Regions from separate parts of the Homo sapiens genome. Here region 1 is linked to region 2. The links are contacts of gene promoters, found by promoter capture Hi-C in human tissues and cell types (Jung and others, 2019). All regions are on one chromosome and are shown on one strand. The core of a region is centred on a gene start or on the middle of the fragment in contact, and the rest is flanking DNA. Distances in the headings are between cores, read along the strand shown. Region 1 overlaps IL18 (interleukin 18). Region 2 holds the start of TIMM8B (translocase of inner mitochondrial membrane 8 homolog B).

Region 1 (7,158 bases), core at 1,950-4,449, 61 kb before region 2:
GTGAAATTTAAGAACACATAGAGTTGGAGTAAAAGTGTAAGAAAACTAGAAGGGTAAGAGACCGGTCAGAAAGTAGGCTATTTGAAGTTAACACTTCAGAGGCAGAGTAGTTCTGAATGGTAACAAGAAATTGAGTGTGCCTTTGAGAGTAGGTTAAAAAACAATAGGCAACTTTATTGTAGCTACTTCTGGAACAGAAGATTGTCATTAATAGTTTTAGAAAACTAAAATATATAGCATACTTATTTGTCAATTAACAAAGAAACTATGTATTTTTAAATGAGATTTAATGTTTATTGTAGAAAACCTGGAATCAGATTACTTTGGCAAGCTTGAATCTAAATTATCAGTCATAAGAAATTTGAATGACCAAGTTCTCTTCATTGACCAAGGAAATCGGCCTCTATTTGAAGATATGACTGATTCTGACTGTAGAGGTATTTTTTTTAATTCGCAAACATAGAAATGACTAGCTACTTCTTCCCATTCTGTTTTACTGCTTACATTGTTCCGTGCTAGTCCCAATCCTCAGATGAAAAGTCACAGGAGTGACAATAATTTCACTTACAGGAAACTTTATAAGGCATCCACGTTTTTTAGTTGGGGTAAAAAATTGGATACAATAAGACATTGCTAGGGGTCATGCCTCTCTGAGCCTGCCTTTGAATCACCAATCCCTTTATTGTGATTGCATTAACTGTTTAAAACCTCTATAGTTGGATGCTTAATCCCTGCTTGTTACAGCTGAAAATGCTGATAGTTTACCAGGTGTGGTGGCATCTATCTGTAATCCTAGCTACTTGGGAGGCTCAAGCAGGAGGATTGCTTGAGGCCAGGACTTTGAGGCTGTAGTACACTGTGATCGTACCTGTGAATAGCCACTGCACTCCAGCCTGGGTGATATACAGACCTTGTCTCTAAAATTAAAAAAAAAAAAAAAAAAAAAAAAACTTAAGAAAAGAAAATGATCAAGTCTACTGTGCCTTCCAAAATATGAATTCCAAATATCAAAGTTAGGCTGAGTTGAAGCAGTGAATGTGCATTCTTTAAAAATACTGAATACTTACCTTAACATATATTTTAAATATTTTATTTAGCATTTAAAAGTTAAAAACAATCTTTTAGAATTCATATCTTTAAAATACTCAAAAAAGTTGCAGCGTGTGTGTTGTAATACACATTAAACTGTGGGGTTGTTTGTTTGTTTGAGATGCAGTTTCACTCTGTCACCCAGGCTGAAGTGCAGTGCAGTGCAGTGGTGTGATCTCGGCTCACTACAACCTCCACCTCCCACGTTCAAGCGATTCTCATGCCTCAGTCTCCCGAGTAGGTGGGATTACAGGCATGCACCACTTACACCCGGCTAATTTTTGTATTTTTAGTAGAGCTGGGGTTTCACCATGTTGGCCAGGCTGGTCTCAAACCCCTAACCTCAAGTGATCTGCCTGCCTCAGCCTCCCAAACAAACAAACAACCCCACAGTTTAATATGTGTTACAACACACATGCTGCAACTTTTATGAGTATAATGATATAGATTATAAAAGGTTGTTTTTAACTTTTAAATGCTGGGATTACAGGCATGAGCCACTGTGCCAGGCCTGAACTGTGTTTTTAAAAATGTCTGACCAGCTGTACATAGTCTCCTGCAGACTGGCCAAGTCTCAAAGTGGGAACAGGTGTATTAAGGACTATCCTTTGGTTAAATTTCCGCAAATGTTCCTGTGCAAGAATTCTTCTAACTAGAGTTCTCATTTATTATATTTATTTCAGATAATGCACCCCGGACCATATTTATTATAAGTATGTATAAAGATAGCCAGCCTAGAGGTATGGCTGTAACTATCTCTGTGAAGTGTGAGAAAATTTCAACTCTCTCCTGTGAGAACAAAATTATTTCCTTTAAGGTAAGACTGAGCCTTACTTTGTTTTCAATCATGTTAATATAATTAATATAATTAGAAATATAACATTATTTCTAATGTTAATATAAGTAATGTAATTAGAAAACTCAAATATCCTCAGACCAACCTTTTGTCTAGAACAGAAATAACAAGAAGCAGAGAACCATTAAAATGAATACTTACTAAAAATTATCAAACTCTTTACCTATTGTGATAATGATGGTTTTTCTGAGCCTGTCACAGGGAAGAGGAGATACAACACTTGTTTTATGACCTGCATCTCCTGAACAATCAGTCTTTATACAAATAATAATGTAGAATACATATGTGAGTTATACATTTAAGAATAACATGTGACTTTCCAGAATGAGTTCTGCTATGAAGAATGAAGCTAATTATCCTTCTATATTTCTACACCTTTGTAAATTATGATAATATTTTAATCCCTAGTTGTTTTGTTGCTGATCCTTAGCCTAAGTCTTAGACACAAGCTTCAGCTTCCAGTTGATGTATGTTATTTTTAATGTTAATCTAATTGAATAAAAGTTATGAGATCAGCTGTAAAAGTAATGCTATAATTATCTTCAAGCCAGGTATAAAGTATTTCTGGCCTCTACTTTTTCTCTATTATTCTCCATTATTATTCTCTATTATTTTTCTCTATTTCCTCCATTATTGTTAGATAAACCACAATTAACTATAGCTACAGACTGAGCCAGTAAGAGTAGCCAGGGATGCTTACAAATTGGCAATGCTTCAGAGGAGAATTCCATGTCATGAAGACTCTTTTTGAGTGGAGATTTGCCAATAAATAACCGCTTTCATGCCCACCCAGTCCCCACTGAAAGACAGTTAGGATATGACCTTAGTGAAGGTACCAAGGGGCAACTTGGTAGGGAGAAAAAAGCCACTCTAAAATATAATCCAAGTAAGAACAGTGCATATGCAACAGATACAGCCCCCAGACAAATCCCTCAGCTATCTCCCTCCAACCAGAGTGCCACCCCTTCAGGTGACAATTTGGAGTCCCCATTCTAGACCTGACAGGCAGCTTAGTTATCAAAATAGCATAAGAGGCCTGGGATGGAAGGGTAGGGTGGAAAGGGTTAAGCATGCTGTTACTGAACAACATAATTAGAAGGGAAGGAGATGGCCAAGCTCAAGCTATGTGGGATAGAGGAAAACTCAGCTGCAGAGGCAGATTCAGAAACTGGGATAAGTCCGAACCTACAGGTGGATTCTTGTTGAGGGAGACTGGTGAAAATGTTAAGAAGATGGAAATAATGCTTGGCACTTAGTAGGAACTGGGCAAATCCATATTTGGGGGAGCCTGAAGTTTATTCAATTTTGATGGCCCTTTTAAAGAAAAAGAATGTGGCTGGGCGTGGTGGCTCACACCTGTAATCCCAGCACTTTGGGAGGCCGAGGGGGGCGGATCACCTGAAGTCAGGAGTTCAAGACCAGCCTGACCAACATGGAGAAACCCCATCTCTACTAAAAATACAAAATTAGCTGGGCGTGGTGGCATATGCCTGTAATCCCAGCTACTCGGGAGGCTGAGGCAGGAGAATCTTTTGAACCCGGGAGGCAGAGGTTGCGATGAGCCTAGATCGTGCCATTGCACTCCAGCCTGGGCAACAAGAGCAAAACTCGGTCTCAAAAAAAAAAAAAAAAAAAAGTAAAATTACCAAAGGCATAAGCTTAATAATTTAATTCAAATTTTAATTCAAATTTTAAAAAGGGCGGGGGGTGGCTGGAAGAGATCTGTGCAAATGAGGGAATCTGACATTTAAGCTTCATCAGCATCATAGCAAATCTGCTTCTGGAAGGAACTCAATAAATATTAGTTGGAGGGGGGGAGAGAGTGAGGGGTGGACTAGGACCAGTTTTAGCCCTTGTCTTTAATCCCTTTTCCTGCCACTAATAAGGATCTTAGCAGTGGTTATAAAAGTGGCCTAGGTTCTAGATAATAAGATACAACAGGCCAGGCACAGTGGCTCATGCCTATAATCCCAGCACTTTGGGAGGGCAAGGCGAGTGTCTCACTTGAGATCAGGAGTTCAAGACCAGCCTGGCCAGCATGGCGATACTCTGTCTCTACTAAAAAAAATACAAAAATTAGCCAGGCATGGTGGCATGCACCTGTAATCCCAGCTACTCGTGAGCCTGAGGCAGAAGAATCGCTTGAAACCAGGAGGTGTAGGCTGCAGTGAGCTGAGATCGCACCACTGCACTCCAGCCTGGGCGACAGAATGAGACTTTGTCTCAAAAAAAGAAAAAGATACAACAGGCTACCCTTATGTGCTCACCTTTCACTGTTGATTACTAGCTATAAAGTCCTATAAAGTTCTTTGGTCAAGAACCTTGACAACACTAAGAGGGATTTGCTTTGAGAGGTTACTGTCAGTGTCTGTTTCATATATATACATATACATGTATATATGTATCTATATCCAGGCTTGGCCAGGGTTCCCTCAGACTTTCCAGTGCACTTGGGAGATGTTAGGTCAATATCAACTTTCCCTGGATTCAGATTCAACCCCTTCTGATGTAAAAAAAAAAAAAAAAAAAAGAAAGAAATCCCTTTCCCCTTGGAGCACTCAAGTTTCACCAGGTAGGGCTTTCCAAGTTGGGGGTTCTCCAAGGTCATTGGGATTGCTTTCACATCCATTTGCTATGTACCTTCCCTATGATGGCTGGGAGTGGTCAACATCAAAACTAGGAAAGCTACTGCCCAAGGATGTCCTTACCTCTATTCTGAAATGTGCAATAAGTGTGATTAAAGAGATTGCCTGTTCTACCTATCCACACTCTCGCTTTCAACTGTAACTTTCTTTTTTTCTTTTTTTCTTTTTTTCTTTTTTTTTGAAACGGAGTCTCGCTCTGTCGCCCAGGCTAGAGTGCAGTGGCACGATCTCAGCTCACTGCAAGCTCTGCCTCCCGGGTTCACGCCATTCTCCTGCCTCACCCTCCCAAGCAGCTGGGACTACAGGCGCCTGCCACCATGCCCAGCTAATTTTTTGTATTTTTAGTAGAGACGGGGTTTCACCGTGTTAGCCAGGATGGTCTCGATCTCCTGAACTTGTGATCCGCCCGCCTCAGCCTCCCAAAGTGCTGGGATTACAGGCGTGAGCCATCGCACCCGGCTCAACTGTAACTTTCTATACTGGTTCATCTTCCCCTGTAATGTTACTAGAGCTTTTGAAGTTTTGGCTATGGATTATTTCTCATTTATACATTAGATTTCAGATTAGTTCCAAATTGATGCCCACAGCTTAGGGTCTCTTCCTAAATTGTATATTGTAGACAGCTGCAGAAGTGGGTGCCAATAGGGGAACTAGTTTATACTTTCATCAACTTAGGACCCACACTTGTTGATAAAGAACAAAGGTCAAGAGTTATGACTACTGATTCCACAACTGATTGAGAAGTTGGAGGTAACCCCGTGACCTCTGCCATCCAGAGTCTTTCAGGCTCTTTGAAGGATGAAGAAATGCTATTTTAATTTTGGAGGTTTCTCTATCAGTGCTTAGGATCATGGGAATCTGTGCTGCCATGAGGCCAAAATTAAGTCCAAAACATCTACTGGTTCCAGGATTAACATGGAAGAACCTTAGGTGGTGCCCACATGTTCTGATCCATCCTGCAAAATAGACATGCTGCACTAACAGGAAAAGTGCAGGCAGCACTACCAGTTGGATAACCTGCAAGATTATAGTTTCAAGTAATCTAACCATTTCTCACAAGACCCTATTCTGTGACTGAAACATACAAGAATCTGCATTTGGCCTTCTAAGGCAGGGCCCAGCCAAGGAGACCATATTCAGGACAGAAATTCAAGACTACTATGGAACTGGAGTGCTTGGCAGGAAGACAGAGTCAAGGACTGCCAACTGAGCCAATACAGCAGGCTTACACAGGAACCCAGGGCCTAGCCCTACAACAATTATTGGGTCTATTCACTGTAAGTTTTAATTTCAGGCTCCACTGAAAGAGTAAGCTAAGATTCCTGGCACTTTCTGTCTCTCTCACAGTTGGCTCAGAAATGAGAACTGGCCAGGCCAGGCATGGTGGCTTACACCTGGAATCCCAGCACTTTGGGAGGCCGAAGTGGGAGGGTCACTTGAGGCCAGGAGTTCAGGACCAGCCTAGGCAACAAAGTGAGATACCCCCTGACCCCTTCTCTACAAAAATAAATTTTAAAAATTAGCCAAATGTGGTGGTGTATACTTACAGTCCCAGCTACTCAGGAGGCTGAGGCAGGGGGATTGCTTGAGCCCAGGAATTCAAGGCTGCAGTGAGCTATGATTTCACCACTGCACTTCTGGCTGGGCAACAGAGCGAGACCCTGTCTCAAAGCAAAAAGAAAAAGAAACTAGAACTAGCCTAAGTTTGTGGGAGGAGGTCATCATCGTCTTTAGCCGTGAATGGTTATTATAGAGGACAGAAATTGACATTAGCCCAAAAAGCTTGTGGTCTTTGCTGGAACTCTACTTAATCTTGAGCAAATGTGGACACCACTCAATGGGAGAGGAGAGAAGTAAGCTGTTTGATGTATAGGGGAAAACTAGAGGCCTGGAACTGAATATGCATCCCATGACAGGGAGAATAGGAGATTCGGAGTTAAGAAGGAGAGGAGGTCAGTACTGCTGTTCAGAGATTTTTTTTATGTAACTCTTGAGAAGCAAAACTACTTTTGTTCTGTTTGGTAATATACTTCAAAACAAACTTCATATATTCAAATTGTTCATGTCCTGAAATAATTAGGTAATGTTTTTTTCTCTATAGGAAATGAATCCTCCTGATAACATCAAGGATACAAAAAGTGACATCATATTCTTTCAGAGAAGTGTCCCAGGACATGATAATAAGATGCAATTTGAATCTTCATCATACGAAGGATACTTTCTAGCTTGTGAAAAAGAGAGAGACCTTTTTAAACTCATTTTGAAAAAAGAGGATGAATTGGGGGATAGATCTATAATGTTCACTGTTCAAAACGAAGACTAGCTATTAAAATTTCATGCCGGGCGCAGTGGCTCACGCCTGTAATCCCAGCCCTTTGGGAGGCTGAGGCGGGCAGATCACCAGAGGTCAGGTGTTCAAGACCAGCCTGACCAACATGGTGAAACCTCATCTCTACTAAAAATACAAAAAATTAGCTGAGTGTAGTGACGCATGCCCTCAATCCCAGCTACTCAAGAGGCTGAGGCAGGAGAATCACTTGCACTCCGGAGGTAGAGGTTGTGGTGAGC
Region 2 (2,835 bases), core at 1-2,500:
CCCAGAAAGCAGCAGCGATGGAGAGAACATACAATGGTGGCTCGGTGACAAGTGTATGTGCTGCACTCCACACCATTCTGGGATAGGTCGGTCCTGAAGAAATGCTGAGATATGAGCAGGTCTGACCACTGGAGTTCGAAGCAACAGAGCTGAGGAAAGAGTCATTAGGATGATCATAAGAACCTCTCCTTTAACAGGACTGACAAACTTTCTAAATGACCATAGGTAAGCTACTTAACAATAAATAGGGGATAACATCTTATTTGTAAAATGAAGATAGCATCTATTTCACTGGGGTTACTGTGAAGTTAAGACCAGGGAACATCTGCATGTTCCCTACTTTATTTAATGACACCTCAGGCATTCTTTAACCTAACTCAGTAATCTGGAAATCATGAGAGACTTTTCCCCTAAATTCAATCGCCAAATCCTATTGGCGTATCTCTTTAACAGTTCTTGAGACAATCTTCTTTTCTTTGTGCTACTTTCCTAGTTCAGGACCTCATCTTGCCCGGACTACTATGACAGTGTTTTCCTCATCAGAATGAAAGCTCGTTGAGGGCGGGAACTACGTTTTCTTCACATTTGTATCCTAGCATTACTACAGTACCTGAGGTAACACAAATGCCCAGGTTAAATGATTTTCGAACTGATCCCCCCTCCACTCCCACATCCAAACACACCAACTCCAGAAGAAATGGGCAAGCTCCTAACCCTCTTTCCCGACTCAGGGTGGGAGCGAGTGGGGAGCATTCTAGGGACAGTGAACGGGGAGAAAACAGAACTGCTATGTGGATTAGCCTCATCAGGACTGCGACTTCCAGAGGGAGCTCTCTTTCTGATTATTCCCTCAACTCGTCAGCTCACAGCAAGTGAAATATACCTTCGGGTAAACATCTGGACCCCTAGACTACAGTGGTCATTGCTGTGATTTCGGTATTTTCTTCTCCTCAAGAGATCTCCCACCCGGCAGATGAGTCCTCACTTCCATCCCCTTCCCTGGCTGGAGGCTACGCTAAGCACCTCAGGGTGGGAAGACCCCTCACCTCGGCCTCCTAGGGCACCGCAAACGGCACTCAGCCTCCAGAGAACCGCCATCTCGTTCCTGAGGGCTCAAGGTCATCCACCAACCCGGAACCACTTAGGCGACAATTCCCACCCACGACGACGAAAGAAAACAGGGAAGAGGAAATGCTGGGTGAACCGGAAGTCGAGAGGCGGTGCACACCCGTCGCGCATGCGCAAACACAGCTGTCGGAAGGTGGCGAGCCTGAGGCGAACAATGGCGGAGCTGGGCGAAGCCGATGAAGCGGAGTTGCAGCGCCTGGTGGCCGCCGAGCAGCAGAAGGCGCAGTTTACTGCACAGGTGCGGGGACGGGGAGGGTGAAGGGAAAGGAAGTTTCACCTTCCTTGGTGGTCCTGGGCACGCTCGGAGGTCTGTACACTGGCGGCTCACTGGTGCTCGATCCCGGCTGCATCCCATTCCCCTCACGAAAGACAAAGTTATGGCTCTCCTGTCCCTGGTGACCGGTAGTGCTCAGGTGCCAGGTATATAAGCGTAGCGTGGAGAAAAGAAAAGGTGTAAAACAGGGAAGATTTGGGCGACGCAAGGGTACGGGAGACTAGTTAGCCGGCGACATGACTGGGCTGGCATTCGAAAGATCTGGGTTCTCATCCTCCCTCTGCTCCTTGCAGGCCACGTGCCCGTAGAAAAGATACTCATCCACTGTGGGTTTTGGTGTCGCCGTCACCCCACTGCCTCACTGGATTGTGAGGATCATATGCGACAATGTATTTGAAAACGACTAGAACATTATCGGAGGAAGGTGGACTCTGAAGTAGTCGCTGTAGACTATGGATGTAGAACAAGGGTTTGGAGCCCTTCGGACATGGTTCTAACGCGGCCTGACTTCTTGCTGGCTACATGACCTTGGACTACATAATCACGCCTCTTAAATGGGAGGTGATGACAGCTATCCTTGAGGACCTTAGAGAGAACTGATTTCTTAGTACCCAGCCTCACAAATAGTAAGCTCTTGGTAAAATGGTTTTTTCCTTTTGGGTGGGAGGAAGAGGGTGCTCGGATGACCAGCAAGAACCCTGGCTAGAAATCTTTGGGCCCTGAACATTCTAATGACAGTGCACATAATTTCTGTGCCTGTATGTGCATTTTTCTGGGGAGTGGATCCATAACCCCCAAAAGGTTAATGGAAGAATTACCTTGTCTAGGGGATAGGTTTGGAATAAAATGAGTGCAATAGTTTGGGAAAATTAATTGGTTCCCTAGTTGGTTCACAATGGTGCTAGCTACTTTGGGGAATATAAAAGGTTATTAGTCCTACCTGAGAATGTACAATCTGTAGGGACGAGGATCTGGATCAATATTGGTGACTAATTAGGAAATGAAGAAAGAGAAGAGCCCAAAGTGACTCCGTGGTTGATTTAAAGAATGGTTTTGTCAGGTGTCAAAAAGTGAGAAGTTAATAAACAAGAGTTAGGCCTATCTGCAGACCCCAATGGTTACTATTTTTCTTTCCTTTTAGGTGCATCACTTCATGGAGTTATGTTGGGATAAATGTGTGGAGAAGCCAGGGAATCGCCTAGACTCTCGCACTGAAAATTGTCTCTCCAGCTGTGTAGACCGCTTCATTGACACCACTCTTGCCATCACCAGTCGGTTTGCCCAGATTGTACAGAAAGGAGGGCAGTAGGCCATCCCCCAGGAGAATGACAGAAGCAAAGGACTTGTTACTAAGCAGATTTAAGGGTCAGTGGGGGAAGGCTATCAACCCATTGTCAGATCAGCATCAGGCTGTTATCAAGTCTGTTGGTGCT

Evidence for each region. Contacts are between HindIII fragments. The study calls those that stand out against the background at their distance.
Region 1: a contact is called between a fragment that was not itself captured here and the fragment with the promoter of TIMM8B in region 2, in 1 of the 25 tissues and cell types used here (aorta).

Annotation. Positions count from the first base shown.
Region 1 is chr11:112,143,351-112,150,508 of GRCh38, reverse strand. It overlaps IL18 (interleukin 18), which reads left to right. Exons shown (of 6, transcript NM_001562.4): 4 at 303-437; 5 at 1,773-1,906; 6 at 6,692-7,158. The coding sequence ends at 6,913. Among named protein-coding and RNA genes, the nearest start is that of IL18, 17 kb to the left of the region's middle. RefSeq lists enhancers at 4,277-4,446, 7,012-7,158. The HindIII fragment of the contact is 3,672 bases long and covers 1,364-5,035 here.
Region 2 is chr11:112,085,171-112,088,005 of GRCh38, reverse strand. It overlaps TIMM8B (translocase of inner mitochondrial membrane 8 homolog B), which reads left to right and starts at 1,250. Exons shown (of 2, transcript NM_012459.4): 1 at 1,250-1,366; 2 at 2,544-2,835. The coding sequence starts at 1,283. The coding sequence ends at 2,711. SDHD (succinate dehydrogenase complex subunit D) reads right to left here and starts at 1,133. Exons shown (of 4, transcript NM_003002.4): 1 at 1,047-1,133; 2 at 33-149. The coding sequence starts at 1,098. RefSeq lists enhancers at 1-169, 863-1,132, 496-1,695. The HindIII fragment of the contact is 14,912 bases long and covers 1-2,835 here.